Linked DNA regions of Homo sapiens: regions 1, 2 and 3 are each linked to region 4. The links are contacts of gene promoters, found by promoter capture Hi-C in blood cells and fetal thymus (Javierre and others, 2016). All regions are on one chromosome and are shown on one strand. Each heading gives the region's core, a stretch centred on a gene start or on the middle of the fragment in contact. The rest is flanking DNA. Distances are from core to core; before and after follow the strand shown. Region 1 overlaps IMMT (inner membrane mitochondrial protein). Region 2 overlaps RNF103-CHMP3 (RNF103-CHMP3 readthrough). Region 3 holds the start of CHMP3 (charged multivesicular body protein 3). Region 4 holds the start of REEP1 (receptor accessory protein 1).

Region 1 (3,796 bases), core at 231-2,730, 150 kb before region 4:
TGTTTGTAGAGACCAGGTCTTGCTATGTTGACCAGGCTGGTCTCGAACTCCTGGTCTCAACCTATTCTCCTGCCACGGCCTCCCAAAGTGTTGGAATTACAGGCATGAACAACCACGCCCAGCATCAGTATTTTTAAATGTTTCTTTATCTACCTTCTATTTTCTTTTATCTTGACTCTCCATCCTCCCTTTGACAGAATGTGTTTTGACTATAAGTTAAAAGCTCCTAATACTAAATAAATTTAAAATCTGAGGTTTTAAATAATAATTTTAAAAGTTTAAATATGCATAGAGTAAAATCTTCCTCATACTTCTTTCCCCAGCCACCCCATGCTTGCCATAGGCAACTGACACTGTCAGTTTCTTATTTATCCAGAGACATTTTATGTATATTTATTCAAATGTGCATATTCTCCTGACTTTCCCCACCTTTACACAAATGATACCATAATATACACGCAATTCTCTATTAAAGTTCAAGGATATATATTTTAAATCACTGTATATCAGTACGTGAAAAGCTTCCCAAGGGATTTCATGATTTGGTATTCCATTGTTACTTAATGTTTAATTGTTAACCAGCCCCTATTGAGGGACACTGAGGTTTTTTCTAAATTTTTGTTAAAATAAATAATGCTACCTGAGTAACACTGTATACACAATTTTGGGTCTATTCTTAAAAGTAAAATTTGCCACGTTGATTAATACTGCCAAATTAGCCAAACTGCCCTCTAGTAATATGAAAGTATGTTTTCCCACATTTTCTCCAACACACTGTATTGTATCATTTTTTTTTCATCATTGACAATCTGAGGGGTGAAAATACAGAAATAGAGTGTTTCAAGCATATAAATAATTTTTTTTTTAAGAGACTGAGTCTTGCTCTGTTGCCAAGGTTGTGGAATGCAGTGGTATGATCATAGCTCACTGTAACCTCTAACTCCTGGGCTCAAGTGATCCTCCAGCCTCAGCCCCCTGAGTAGCTGGGACTACAGGCACATGCCCACCATACCCAGCTAATATTTTTGTTCTTGTTTTTTATAGAGCCAGGTCTGCTATGTTACCCAAGCTAGTTTTGAACTCATGGCCTCAAGCAATCCTCCTACCTTGGCCTCTCAAAGCACTGAGTAATTTTTATTTACATAATTTATATATTAATACGTTTGTTATTGTTAATATAATAATTATAATTACACTGCTATTTAATACCACTAAGTTTAGGGTGGTCTGTTACACAGCTACAGATAACCAAACATATGTTTATACCTAGAAGAGGGGTGCTACTGCAACAAAACATAAACACGAGGTCATGACTTTGGGACTGGTGTTGGGGGCGGCAGAAGCTGAAGAACCTTGAAGAGACTGTGAGCAGAAGCCTAATGGCCTTCCAGAGCCTGTTGGTGAGGGCTTAAAGAAAAGCAAAAAAAAAAAAAAATTTTGGAACCTGGAGGAAAAGATATTCTTGTTATGTAGTGACAGAAGTTTATCAAAACTGTCATCTGTAATGACAGACATGGAAAATAGAAAATTAAGTATAGCTGTAGCTACACCTAATGAACTGACGTACTTGGCTAAAGAGTTCCAAGTAGGCCAGGCGCGATGGCTTACGCCTGTAATCCCAGCACTTTGGGAGGCCGAAGCGGGCGGATCACAAGGTCAGGAGATTGAGACCATCCTGCTGAACATGGTGAAACCCCGTCTCTACTAAAAATACAGAAAATTAGCCGGGCGTGGCAGTGTGCGCCTGTAGTCCCAGCTACTCGGGAGGCTGAGGCAGCATGAACCCGGGAGGCAGAGCTTGCAGTGAGCCGAGATTGCGCCAGCCTGGGTGACAGAGCCAGACTCTGTCTTAAAAAAAAAAAAACAAAAGAGTTCCAAGTATAGTGTTCATCACAAGCGCTAACTGGTTTCTTTTAGCTGAGTATGATAAGGACAGAGATAAGCATTAAAAAACAAAACAAAAACCTGTTTTGCTTTCAAGCAAAATTTAAAGGAAATATAAAAGAGTCAGGATTTGGTGGGTTCAAAAATAAAACTGCTTATTGTTTTCAAATAGATTCTCAAATAGAGAAGGGCTTCAAGCCAAAGATCAAATCTAGTGTGTGACCAAAAGATACTTTGAGATCTCAAAAAGATCTAAGGAGGTGCCCCTCAGAGAGTCTTTTTACCTTGAGGAAAAGGCCCTCTAAGAATCATAAGGATGTGTTTCCCAGATTCTATTGAATCAATAAGGTTACTCAGAACATTAAAGGTGTTACCTACAGCAGCCTCACAGGAAGCCCAAAATGGAGAAGGGCTTATCTTGATAAGATGTGTATCATGCATCTAATGAAGAAAATCCCATTAAGATTCACAGGAAACCCACAAACTTGTTGAGAATTGTGTCAATAAAAAACATGCTGGCTTATATTTAAAGTGAAAAAGAGGACAAAATGAAAAGAAGCTTCTAGACAAACTTCTACAGACAGGAAGTAGGCTGTGAAACAATTCAGCTGTAACAGACAACATATTCTGGAAACGGAAGAATAATTCAAGTGTAAAACCAGGAGCCCAAAGGGTAGAACCAAGAGCTGAGGAGAATCATTCCCAAGCAGTAGGACTGAGCTCTCATCAAGGAATTAGAAACATAGGGCCAGCTGAATTTTACACTTGTTATGGAATGGTGACTGCTGTGTGCCTCTTAGTTTCTGCCTTTTTGAATAGGAGTGTCTAGAGTGATTATCCTGTGTCTGTCATACCACCATATGCTGAATGTATGGGGAGCAGATAATTTGTCTCTTTAGTTTACAGGGCTTTAGATCACCAAAAAAAGTGTTTAAGAAGCTATACCCTAGGGACCACATTCAAGATGTCTTATCCATAGTAGGATCTGATTCAGATGACAAGATCTTGTTCCTAATGCTGATGCTTTGATGGCATTAGACTCTGGAGAGTCTTGGAGAAGGTTGTGAGTGGGAGGGATGTGCATGTGGGAGGGATGTCAGTTGGGTCCAGAAGGCTGAGGATAATATCCAAAATTGACTGCAACAATACTTCCTATACCACATGCTGTTCCAGAAACGTGCCCCTCTCCCAACAATAATAAGTTTTATGTACACTTCCCTTAAACAAGGGCAGGCCTTTGTTACTAATTCACTAATAGAAGGCAGTGAAAGTGATGCTCTGTAACTCCTGAGACTAAGACATAAAAAGGATACAGCTTCTACCTAGCTCTGCCTCTTGTCACACTTGCCCTTGGAACCCAGCCACCAAAGTGTATGGAAGTCCAGACACTTAAAGATGCCACAGATGGGTGATCCAGCCAACAGTCCCTGCTGAGGTGTCAGCTGCAGCCAGTATTTACTGCCACACATGAGAGTAAAGAAGACTTGGGGATGACTGTAGACCTAGTAACTATCTGACTGCAACTTCATGAGGGTCTCTGAGCAAAAATTTTCCAGAACTGAGTAAGGCAATAAATACTGTTATTTTACCCCAAGCTCAAGGTGGCCTGTTATGCAGCTGTAACTCATAAGAACAGATCTTTTTAAATTCATGGATTTAAACACTTTTGATGGATTTCAACCATTTGTAATTACTGTCTTTTTGCTCAAATTTTCCTATCTTGGGCCAATGGAAGCCTCTGCAAGTTTAGGGTGTGTATGTGTGTATCTAGCTCTGGCTCTATACTTCCGGCCATCTGCAAATACCTGGTGGCAGGTATTTTTTTTTTCCTCTATGTGACAAAATCCCCTTAACATAAAATTCACCATTCTAACCATTTTAAAATGTACAATTCCACGGTATTTAGTACATC
Region 2 (3,756 bases), core at 895-3,394, 190 kb after region 4:
TGATAGGTACATAGAGATTCATTTGGGTATTCACTCTGCTTTTGTATATGCTTAATATTTCCATAATAAGAAGTTAAAGAGAAAACAATACAGGATGATTCAAACAATCCAACTTCTCTCCTCAGAAGTGAACCTTTTTCAGACCTCTGTTTATCCATTTATCATTTATTTACACAACTACACAAACACATCCTCTACTTATTTACAGAGTGCTATCATGCTATATATACTGTTCTGCAACTTGCTTTCTTATTAAATGATGCATCATTAACATCTTTCTGTAGCTGAATACTATGCTGAAACCTAAATAAATCATAATTTACTGATTCAGTCCTCCACTGAAGAAAAATAAAATGTTAGCAGTTCCCCTGTTACCAATAACTTTCTGTTGTTGGCTTTAATTATGTGTATTTTACTAATTGGGTAAAAATTCCCAATGCCTATAATTGTACAATTATAAAACTATTTCAAAAACAAAATTAAATACAAAAAACTTCAAAATCAATAAAATTCACATTAACAACGTAAATTTCATGTGATACTTTGCTGAACTAAAACACCACTTATAATGTGGGTTACGCTACAGGTAAAATACTTGATAACTATGCATATATATACTGTTCTCATCTATCTGTCTGGTGACTCCTTTCCCGCTTTTCTCCATTAAGACTACTGAGGTTGCAGTGAGCCGAGATGGCACCACTGCACTCCAGCCTGGGCGACAGTGCGAGATCTTGTCTCAAAAAAAAAAAAAAAAACTACTTAAAATCCTTGCATCAGATGGGATTCCCTCGGCAAGGACATTTACACAGTAAGTTGGGTTTTGCTCTTTTCACACTGGATTGCCACAGTGAAATTTGACACCAAACCTCATAAACAAAAATGCAAATGGGGGATTCAAGTCTCATGAAACTCATCAATTATAAGGTAACCCAGAGTATACATATGTTTAATTTTTTAATGATGCCAAAAATTAAAATAAAAAAAAATTCTCATAGTAGAAAGACTGGAAGAAGACAAAGTGGTGGGAGAAGGAAAATCAAGATTTTTTTATATCAATTTTGAGATACCCCTTGAGACATCTGAGTGGAGATGCCAATTACGCACTTAGAGATAAAGTCAGCCCTGAAGATAAAACTCAATGGCATTTAAAGGCATGGGGTTAGATAAGATCGACTACTGGGAGTAAAGATGGAAAGGAGCAGAGGATCTAGAATAGAGCCCTCGAGCACCTTAACATTCAGAGGCCAAAGAGCAAATACTTTACTTTTCAATTCTGGTAAAGCTACAGTATATATGAAATGAACAACTTAACATATTGTTATGGGTGTACATTTAAACGATAGGCTCTTATGTGCAGTGCACAGGGAAGCTTTTGTTATGTATACTGCTGAAAGTGTATGATAAAAGAGTTTTTGCATGCAGACTAATGATTACTTACTATGACGATAACTGGCTGAAAAGGTATTTTGGAATCAGGACACAGGAAGAAAGGGCAAAGAAAAGAGAATGCTCGAGTTTAGTAGCTCTGAGAGAACTATTAACACAAGATAACATTTCTCAAAAATAAAAAAGTCTGACAATACCAAGTCAAAAAGGTGAAAAGGTATGGAAAAAAAGAACTCATGAACTGCTGCTGGAAATATAAATTAGTAAAGCTTCTTTGGAGAGCAATTTTGTAATTCTAGCAAAATTTAAACCCAGCTACTTACTTAGCAATTCTACTTCTGAGTATACAACTGTCCTAAACCTTTACACACAGCAAAAACTGAAAATAACCTTAATATCCATCAAAAGGGGAACAGAAAAATAAAATGTGATACATCAATGTAATTTCATCTAGTAGTTCAAATCAATGGACTAGAGCATGCTCTCTCTCTCTCTCTCTCTCTATATATATATACACATACACATAGATAATTTTATTGTGGTTGCTGTTGTTTTGTTTTGTCTTGTTTTATAGAGACAGGGTTTCATTATGTTTCCCAGGCTGGTTTTGAACTCCTGGCTCAAGTGATCCTCCTGCCACAGCCTCCCAAAGGGCTGGCATTACAGGTATGAGCCACTGCACCCTGCCTACATTTATCCACATGAACATATTTCAAAAACGATGATAAATGGAGCAAAAAGACGCAGAATGGTATCTATAGTATGATACCATTCATAAAAATTTTAAGATTCATGATAGTGGCTTTCTCTGGAGAGGTTGGGAGAGAAGAGAATGAAACTGGGAAGGTGTATTAAAGGAGCTTCAACTTTTGTAATAATGCTTTTTTTATATATATATAATATAGAAGCAGGCAAATACAACAAAACGTTAAATTGTATTAGTTCTGGGCCAGGTGCAGCGGCTCACAACTATAATCCCAGCACTTTGGAAGACTGAGGCAGTGGATCACTTGAGCTCAGCAGTTCAAGACCATCCTGGGCAACATGGTAAAACCCCGTCTCTACCAAAAAAAAAAAAGATAAATTTTATTAGTTCTGTATAATAGGTACATAAAGACTTATTACATTATCCTCTGCTTTCATCTCTACAATTGGAAAAAAAAGAGGCTGTGCATACACTGCTTTATTCATAGAGGGAAAAAGGCAAAATAAGCAATAAGGAAAGAGTGAAAAATGTTTAAACAAGCTTATCATGGTCAACTGAACATGTGTCTTTTGAGCATGTTGCAGGAAAAATTGAGAATCAATCTGAATTTTTCAAGCTGGCTATAAAAGACAATAATACTTGAGCTTTCAACATGACAGGATTAAACTATTTCTTTATGGCACTGATACTCAGTTTGATCAAAAGGCATATCTAGGTGATATATCCAGTATTTCAAGAGCCTAAAATCATCATTTTAGGGCTGTAATAACATGGCATTTAAAAGTGAAGATAGGCCGGAAGTGGTGGCTCATGCCTGTAATCCCAGCACTTTGCAGAGCCGAGGAAGGTAGATCACCTGAGGTCAGGAGTTTGAGACCAGCCTGGGTAACATGGCGAAACCCCGTCTCTACTAAAAATACAAAAATTAGCTGGGAGTAGTGGTGGGCACCTGTAATCCCAGCTACTTGGGAGGGTGAGGCGGGCGAATCGCTTGAGCCTGGGAGGCGCAGATTGCATTTAGCCGAGATCACACCACTGCACTCCAGCCTGGGTGACAGAGAAAGACTCTATCTCAAAAAAACAAAAATAAATAAATAAAAGATAATCTTGATAGATTTTTTAAAGGATGATGTGGTACAAACATTTTGTCATTTTTTTTTTACTCTTTCCCAGCCCATGATTATTCTCTTCAGTATCTCGAGAAAGAAACTAATGATACATTCATGGTTAGGCATATTTTAAAACCACATTCGAATGTTAAAATTGAATGTGAAGAAAATACCTTCAGAACGAAATACAACCAAATAATGCATTAGAAACCCATTTGGCACCATCCTATAAATTAAAACACTTCATCTTCTAACTTCTTTTGAGTGTGATCAATGAAGTATCTGACAGAGAGTTGAAAATATTCTTCAGTGAAAAATTTCTCCATAATTTATTTCTTTTTTAGACACAGTCTTGCTATATTTATTGTCCAGGCTCAGGCACAGTGGTTATTCACAGGTGTAATCAGAGCTCACTGTGGCCTCAAACCCCTGGGCTCAAGCACTTAATTCTCCTTGCTCAGCCTCCTGAGCAGCTGGGACTACAACTGCATGCCACCATGCCTGGCTCTCCATGATTTCTGAGTCTGTATTCAATCTAAATATCTGACAGTC
Region 3 (4,116 bases), core at 1,235-3,734, 230 kb after region 4:
TGGGAAATCTGCTCCCATGATCCAATCACCTCATACTAGGTCCCACCTCCAACACTGGGGATGACAATTTGACATGAGATTTGGCGGGGACACAGATCCAAACCATATCAGGTGCCCTATCCAAACCAGCTCTTAAAATGTTTATCTTACTTGCTAGAAGTTAAGTTCTTTGGCTTCTTATTTCACCTTTATAATCCCTCTTTGGGAGGTAGTATAAATGGCATGATAATTCTAAGTATAGGCCTTAGAATACATAACCTCTGGTGCTGTAATTCACAAACTGTATGACCTTGGGCAAATTACCTAAATACTGTATGCCTCAGTTGCCACCTGTAAAGTGGAGACAATAACAGTTCCTACCTCATAACATTGCAGAGTGCTTAACACAATGCCTGGTTCAATATGTTAGCTAAAGGTGGTGGTAGTTAGGGCTAATCTTAATTCACTCTACAATCTTGCTACTCAAGTGTAGACCAGCAGCATCAACATCACCTGGGAGCTTATTAGAAATCTCAGACCCTATCCAAGACCTACTGAATCAGATTTTGAATTCTGACAAGATCCCTAATGATTAGTGTGCACACTAATGCTTGAGAAGCACTGCTCTACAATACCCAGACTTGTCCATAATGGGGGGAAAAACAACTAAAATTTTTTATTCAATAAATGATCTTACCTGTTCGGCTCTGGCAAGCATAGTTTTAAAAACCAATCTCATGCATCAACCCTGCCATTTTCCAGTGTCAATCAGCTTTCTCAGGTAGATTACCCTACTGAAGAGTGTACCAATATCGTGTTCTTAGCAATTTATCATTTAAAAACAATCTAAGTGTACAATATACTAGAGTAGTATAGTAGTACATATACTAGAGACTAGTTTAAACAATAAAGCAACCATTTCCCCAGCATCTTTTTTGCTTCTCCATAATCTTATCTCAATTTACGAATGGCAATGCCAAGGCCAAACACTGAAGACAACAAATAATCTCTCCCTACCACACTTCTACAATAACAAGAATCTTAGAATATACAGATGTCACAAAATGTGCATCTATATAATGTTCTATAGTTTCCAAAGTGATGTTATACCGTTATTTCATTTAAGCGCCACAATTTTTATTTTACCAAGGAGCAAAACTGAGTAAGTTTCCTGACGAAAATAATGAGTGTCTACTGTTCTAGGGCCTTTAACAACAACAACAACAAATTTACATTAACGCACATTATGTGCCAGGAATTGCAAGATGCATAAGATTAGTTTTTAAAATGTGCCTGCTAGAGCTGAACAGGTAAGATCATTTATTAAAGGATTTCAGGATTTTTTTTTTCCATTATGGACAAGCCTAGGTGTTGCAGAGCAGTGCTTCTCAAAGCACTGATGTGCACACTAATCATTAGGGAGCTTGTCAGAATTCAAAATCTGACTCAGTGGGTCTGGAGTGGTGTCCGAGATTTAACAAGCTCCCAGGTGATGTTGATGCTGCTGGTTGGCATTTGAGTAGCAAAGCTGTGCCGTATTTAAAGAATTAGCCCTAACTACCAATATGAAAACTTTACATCCCTGAATCTTCAATTACTCTGAGGTGACACTACTATTATTCTGGCTTCACAGTCGAGAAGGCACTGAGAAGTGAACTTTCCAGAGATCACAGAGCTGAGATGTGGGAAGGCAGGATTCAAACTTAGGTTGACTGACTGCAGGGCATTTTCAACTGTTTGCCTCCCAATATTATCTCAATTAATAGGTAACGAGAGTTCGAAGCCGGGTCCAGAGCTATCTTCTGTAACATTCTTCTGGGTCGAGTCCCTGCCCCGCTACGGTATGTGCCTAGGGTCAACACAAGGGCTGGGGAAAGAGGAAACTGAGCCTCTTTTTCAACACAACAGGGAGGACGGAGAACAGACGGCTCCTCCGGCAGACGCGACCCGGCCCGCTCCAAACAACGCTTCGGGCAGGAGAAGGTTCTCCGGGTGGTCCGCAGCCGGGCTGGAGGGGTGGGGCCTACGCTGGGAAAAGGTTCCGGGCGGGTCGTACCAACGCGCGCAGGGGGAAGAGGTTTCCGAGGCCAGGACGGTGTCGCTGCCTACGCGCTCAGTGGCGAGGTGGAGAAACTCTTCATCCACCCTCGGCTACCTGTTCGAGAGCCATGGCACCAGGAGCTCTCGCGTCCCACAGCCGACTCCTAAAGACTCTTCCTCCGGCCCCCCTGTCGAGTGGGAGTCCCCGGAAATGGGGGCCGGGCGGTATCGGGCAGGCGGTGGGGAGAAGAGTGTCCTGTCATTTACCAACTTCACTACGCCCCACACAGATCCACCCGCTTATCTGCCGCCGCCGTAGCCCTTACCAGTTCTTTGGGCGGCTTCTCCTGGGTCTTTCCAAACAGCCCCATGACGAACTGAACCCGTCTTGCCCCTTCCGGCTTTCAGTTCCCCGCGCCCAGGCAGGTCACGGGCAGCCGCCTGGGCGGGGCCCGCGGAAAAGGAGGTAGTCCCAACCCCCAGAGTAGGGAGCGGCGGCACTAGGGGATGTTGCGCATGCGCCATACGCCTGCGCAGAATCGAGTGAGTGGGAGACTAGTCAAAAAGGCTGACGTCATCGCACATGTTCTGGTCATGTCTGTGTGGGGGAGACCACGGATTCGGTGCTTTTCGTAAGGTGTAGAAATGATTGCTCTGAAAGATACGAATTTGTTGGCTACAACTGCTTCTAATACTTCACCTAAACCTAGATGTTGCACCAGAAGTCTGGATCTCCACGCAGACGTGTACACTTAGCATCACTTTCCCGACAGCTTCATCTTTGTGTCCAGTAGGCAACTCACAGGTGACAAACCAAAAATAACCTCTTTTTCCTCCCGCCAACCCACTCCTCCCCTCTGCTTGCACCACCATCACCTGGTCACTAAACCCTAGGCATCGTCCTCTCTCCCCTCTTACCAAGTCCCAACCATTCTAACTTCAATATGTCTGAACTTCAACCCTCCCCTTTCCATCCCAACTGCGGTCGTTTTTTTTCAGGCCATCGCCCTTTCCAGCGTGGGCGATTCCTGCCTAGCATTTGTCCATGTGTGTCCCGTCCTACACGCCACACTGACCGTGAGCTTAATCACACTCTCAAAGGAATCTGACTAAAGAGAACTAGACACATTTTAGCACGGACAGTTCCTGATTAGGCCTATACGGTGAGCTGATGGTTACTGTCATTAACTCATCCGAGGATGGTGAAGGGGACCATTTGTTACCTCAGCCCCATACTCCTGTCTCTGGTGGAATCATAAAATGGTTCGGCAGCTTTGAAAACATTTTGACAATTTCTTAAAATGCTAAACAAAGCCAGCCTTCCATTCCTAGCTATTTACCCAAGAGGGAAAAAAGCATATGTTCTTACAAAGACTTGTACACAAATGTTCATAGCAGCTCTATTTGTAATAGCCATAAACTGGAAACAATCCAAATGTCTATCAACAAGTGAATGGATAAACCAGTCGTGATTGATCCATACGAAGGAATAGTACTGAGCAATAAAAAAGTAAACTATTGATAAATGCAACAGCATGGATGAATCTCAAAATAATTCTGCCAAGTGAAAGAAGCCAGAACCGTATGATTCCATTTACATAACATTCTGGAAAATGCAAACTAATACATAGTGACAGAGAGTACATGGGCGGTTGCTAGCGGATAGGAGTGGGGTCAGAAAGAGGCAGAAAAGAGGGATTACAAAGAGACACGAAGTTTAGGGGGATGATGGATAATATCTTGATTGTGATGATGGTTTCACAGATGTATACAATATCAAAACTTACCAGGTTGGACACTAAGTATGTGCGATTTATTTTATGTCCAATCATACTTCAATAAAGTTGTTTTTAAAAAAGCACTGCCTGTTCATTGTGAAAAGTTAAACCCTCATTCTCACTTCCTCAGGGGAAAAGGTCTCAAAGGATTCACACCAACTATTAAATATAGTGTGAATCTTCTGAAACCTTTTCCTTTGGAAAATATACTTTTATTTTTATTTATGTATTTGTTTTTGAGACCGGGTATCACTTTGTCACCCAGGCTGGAGTGCAGTGGCAGGATCTTGCCTCACTGCAGCCTCTACCTCCCAGATTC
Region 4 (3,912 bases), core at 619-3,118:
AGAATCGCTTGAACCCAGGAGGCGGAGGCTTCAGTGAGCCGAGACTGTGCCACTGCACTCTCCAGCCTGGGCGACAGAGCGAGACTCGGTCTCAAAAAAAAAAAAAAAAAAAGGGCAGGGGTGAGGGAGGTGCTAATAAAACTAATGATAGTCACATGACCCAGTGCTAATAAAACTAATGATAGTCACATGACCCAGGATCAGATGCCCTCACTCCCAGCCCAGCAGGACCTACAGAGAGCCCACCAGCCAGGCCAGCTCAACTCTCCAGCCCCACCCTGAGGGCTTCCCAGAAGCCACTGGCAATATCGATCCCAGAGAGGAAACACCACCCTGAAGGCAAGACAGTGTTGGTCAGGCATGAGGCTGGGCAAGGCGTGTCAGCCACTTTCCTGTATTATTCATGTCGGCTCTGCCAGCAGAAATCTTCTAAATATTTAACATGCCACCTCAAGGTGCAGCGCAAACACCCCGCAGTCAGGAACAGCTGTGGAGAGGCCTTCACGGAATGACTTGGGGGCTGAGAGGCACAGACACTGGCTTTGGGAGGAAAGCCCTGAATGGTGGCGGGAGACAATGCTGAGATCCACTTCGGAAGGGAAAATCAGTAAAGAAGGGAAGGGAGATGGGTGGTGTTTCAAAACGTGGGGAGTGATGGTGCACAATCACTGGGGTCCAGAGCCCCGTGTTCTCAGACAAAGAAAAAGCCCGAGGTGCCTGCCACCCTCCTCCCCGCCTTAGACTCCCCACACCCATTTCAGCCCCTGCTAGCTACAGCAGGTGGCAAATCTGTTCTGACTCAGGCCAGGATGGTTAGGGAAGAACAGGGACTTGGAACAGCCACGTCTATCTCCAAAGGAGAATAAATCCACCGGGGAAGCTCTTCAAACGCCTACAGGTCCTGGGGCTTGAAGGAGAAAATCGGCCCCCACGCCCACCCCCAATGACTTCACACAGACCTCACCCTAGATGACTCTGCGCTCTCCTGCAAGGCCTGGGAGGTGTCATCGCCACCATGCGGGTGGCTGTCACTTGAAAATTTCCCGTGCATTCCTGGAGGTACCTGCCCCTGTCTCTCAATCCCCTGCAAAAGGAGTCGGAGCCGGGGGCTCCAGGCGTTTACTCCAAGATTCACATGCGTCTTCCCATGTCCCAGCTGCCTTTGCCGCTGTCGATGCAGACACCTAAAAAGGAGGATTTTTCCAACCCCACTGGGAGCCCCGCCTCTGCCTCTCCACCCGTTCCGCGCTGACCCTCCAGGCAGCGCCCCTGGTTCGTCTGCGCTGTCCTTTCCACCTGACAAAAGCTGGGGCGGCGGGGCGCGGCGCCGGGCGACCTCACATTTCTGCCAAAGGAGAGAGACGCGTGTCCGCGGTGCGCCCATTCGGGGCCTCTGCAAATCGACCGAGCTGAGGAACAAAGCGGCCAGCGCGCGGCGAGACGCAGCCCCCACGGAACCCCCGAGCGCCCCAGCCCTCGCCGTCCCGGCCCAGCCCCCCGCAAGCGGCCGCCGGCGCCGGCTGCCTCCTGGGCAGCAGCCGCGTCCTGCGCCGCCCGTCCGCCCGCAGGCGTCCTCGGCGGCTACTGTACCTGCTAAATTTAGCTGCGCCGGGTATTAATAGCCCGAGCCACTGGGACCGGGCGCTGTAGGGGCGCGCGCAGCCCGGGGCCGGGGGCGGGGAGGGAGGGGACGGAGGGGCGCGGGGGAGAAGGCCACTTACACCACCAGCCTGGAGATGATCCATGACACCATGGCGGGCAGGCGGGCGGGCGAGGCCCGGGCGGCGCGGCTCGGCTAGGCTGCGGGCGGCGCGGGCTGCTGCGGCGTTCCCGGAACGTCAGTCAGCTCACGGCAGCCGCCGCCAGACTGAGCGCGCCCGCCGCCCTGCCCGGCGTTCGCGCGTTGGCGCAGCCGCGGCACGTTCTGGCGGCGGCGGCGGCGGCCCCAGCCCCCCGGGGCTCGGCGGGCCCGCAGCGATTGGGCGGTGAGCTGGTCAGGGCACCCGCGGGCCCGCCCCGTCCCGCTCGCCCTGGCCCCCGGCTGAAGGCGGGCGCGTCCTGCGCGCTCCCCGGGGCACCGGCCCCGCCAAAGGAACCCTGCAGCGGCCCCGTTTGCAGGGCAGGGACCCGGGTGCTGCCCCACCCTCAGCGTTCCAGCGGAGAAACTGAAGTCCGAACCTGAACCTCGGGAATCTGTCTGCACCTGTCTAGGTGGGATGCTGTCATCCCTCATTCAGCTAGTGCGTTAGCCTCATAAAGGGTTTACCTGGATCCAGACCTAACCTCTTCAGTCTGTCCGTTGCTCAGCACTTTCTGCATAAGAAACAAACCTGGGCGCTTGCCTCCCTACTTAAAATTCTACAGAGTCCCTATATGATCGTGGTACCTGCCTAGAACCGTGTTGCCAAGACCATTCCCCCAAATAGTCCTCTAGCTCTTTTCCCTCCAGGCATCTTGGACTCAAATATTTGCTGTTTCTTCTTCCCTGTCAGTACACGCCACGCCTCATCGTCCTGCCTTGGTTTGATTCAGCTCCTTCTTCTAGGCTGGGCTGAAGGGCTACTTCTTCCTAGGGAAGGCCTTTCCTTGGGGGCTGCTCCGGGCCCTAGGAGGAGACTAGAAGCTGCGACTGCTTAGCACCAGTGCCCCGCTGAGCCACGTTGAACTCTTAGGCAAAAGGGAACTTGTGCACCCTATATAAACGTTTTTATGTATTTTTTAAAATACCGTATTAAATATTATGGTGGTTTTTTTTGTTGTTGTTGTTTTTTTATGAGACAGAGTCTCGCTCTGGGGTGCAGTGGCGCGATCTCGGCTCACTGCAAGCTCCGCCTCCCGGGTTCAAGCGATTCTTCTGCCTCAGCCTCATGAGTAGCTGAGATTACAGGAGTGCGCCACCACGCCCAGCTAATTTTTGTATTTTTAGTAGAGACGGGGTTTCACCATGTTGTCCAGGCTGGTCTCAAACTCCTGACCTCGTGATCCGCCCGCCTTGGCCTCCCAAAGTGCTGGGATTACAGGAGTGAGCCACCTATTATGTATTTTAGTTGCTGAATTTTATGGCACCTCTTAAATGTTGCACCCTCACTGAGCGCCTCACTCTGCTCACCCTAGTCCCGGCCGCAGATAGTACATTATTCTGTTACACTGGAAACGCTTTGTCCTCTACTCCTAGGCTCTGCTGCTGCTTTTCCCACCCTCCAATAGCTTAGGTTCTGCGTGGTGCTCCCAGCGCCCTGTCCTTTGCTGATGATGGTGTCATGTATAATTCAGTGTCAGATGTGAGAAGCGCAGGAGACAGCTTAGTACTCTCAGATGTAGCAGAATCTGTGCGTGCGTGTGCCTGATATAGTCAGAAGAAAGACTTCACGGACAACAAAGGGACTGCAGATGAGACATGCTCTCATATCTCAGGTCTCCAAAGAACCCATAAAATAGCTGTAATGTAGCAGTTTTTTCATGCTGCCTTGACCCAGTTTTGAGGCTCAGGCTGGAGGCTGGTCAGTTCCCCTTCTCCAGCAGTCTATTAACTGCATACCCCCAACCACTTCCGTTAGCAGGCTCTCACACGCGGGACACTATACACCTGTCCAGGGCTAGGCACCAAACAACTAGTTACAGCCCCTGTACTTCAGAACCCGCTGAAATTATCCAAATTAGCCTATCCTATATCTGCTTGCCTTATTTCACTCTTTCCTTCCCTCAGAAACCATGATAAAGATGTTTGTCCACAATTCCCCTCTCTCCCTCTCTCTGTGACAGACCCTGGCCCTGAGTGGACCTGCATGGTGTGCTGTGATCTCTCCAGGAAACTGTGGATATAAAAAGCTCTAAAACTCTTTCTAGCTTCTCTCTCTTGATCTGTGTCTGGCCCCACCATATCTCACTCAAGGTAAGGTTATACGGGTAAAA

Evidence for each region. The method cuts DNA at HindIII sites, captures the fragments that hold promoters and counts their contacts. A CHiCAGO score of 5 or more calls a contact.
Region 1: a fragment that was not itself captured here is called in contact with the fragment with the promoter of REEP1 in region 4 in 2 of 17 cell types (megakaryocytes and total B cells); the score reaches 5.4 in megakaryocytes.
Region 2: a fragment that was not itself captured here is called in contact with the fragment with the promoter of REEP1 in region 4 in 1 of 17 cell types (endothelial precursors); the score reaches 5.3 in endothelial precursors.
Region 3: a contact is called between the fragment with the promoter of CHMP3 here and the fragment with the promoter of REEP1 in region 4, in 7 of 17 cell types (erythroblasts, naive CD8 T cells, non-activated CD4 T cells and 4 more). The highest score is 11.2, in erythroblasts.

The regions. Positions count from the first base shown.
Region 1 is chr2:86,183,319-86,187,114 of GRCh38, forward strand. The region is part of intron 1 of IMMT (inner membrane mitochondrial protein); the gene reads right to left. Among named protein-coding and RNA genes, the nearest start is that of MIR4779, 7.9 kb to the right of the region's middle. The HindIII fragment of the contact is 1,922 bases long and covers 520-2,441 here.
Region 2 is chr2:86,524,792-86,528,547 of GRCh38, forward strand. All of the region lies in intron 5 of RNF103-CHMP3 (RNF103-CHMP3 readthrough), which reads right to left. All of the region lies in intron 3 of CHMP3 (charged multivesicular body protein 3), which reads right to left. Among named protein-coding and RNA genes, the nearest start is that of CHMP3-AS1, 35 kb to the right of the region's middle. The HindIII fragment of the contact is 977 bases long and covers 1,657-2,633 here.
Region 3 is chr2:86,560,959-86,565,074 of GRCh38, forward strand. CHMP3 (charged multivesicular body protein 3) reads right to left here and starts at 2,485. Exons shown (of 6, transcript NM_016079.4): 1 at 2,346-2,485. The coding sequence starts at 2,390. The region is part of intron 3 of RNF103-CHMP3 (RNF103-CHMP3 readthrough); the gene reads right to left. CHMP3-AS1 (CHMP3 and RNF103 antisense RNA 1) reads left to right here and starts at 1,112. Exons shown (of 6, transcript NR_183901.1): 1 at 1,112-1,289; 2 at 1,888-1,962; 3 at 2,310-2,441; 4 at 2,730-2,824; 5 at 3,019-3,182. RefSeq lists enhancers at 1,911-2,080, 2,091-2,190, 2,348-2,642, 2,801-2,860. The HindIII fragment of the contact is 23,374 bases long and covers 1-4,116 here.
Region 4 is chr2:86,335,758-86,339,669 of GRCh38, forward strand. It overlaps REEP1 (receptor accessory protein 1), which reads right to left and starts at 1,869. Exons shown (of 9, transcript NM_001371279.1): 1 at 1,722-1,869. The coding sequence starts at 1,753. The HindIII fragment of the contact is 12,312 bases long and covers 1-3,912 here.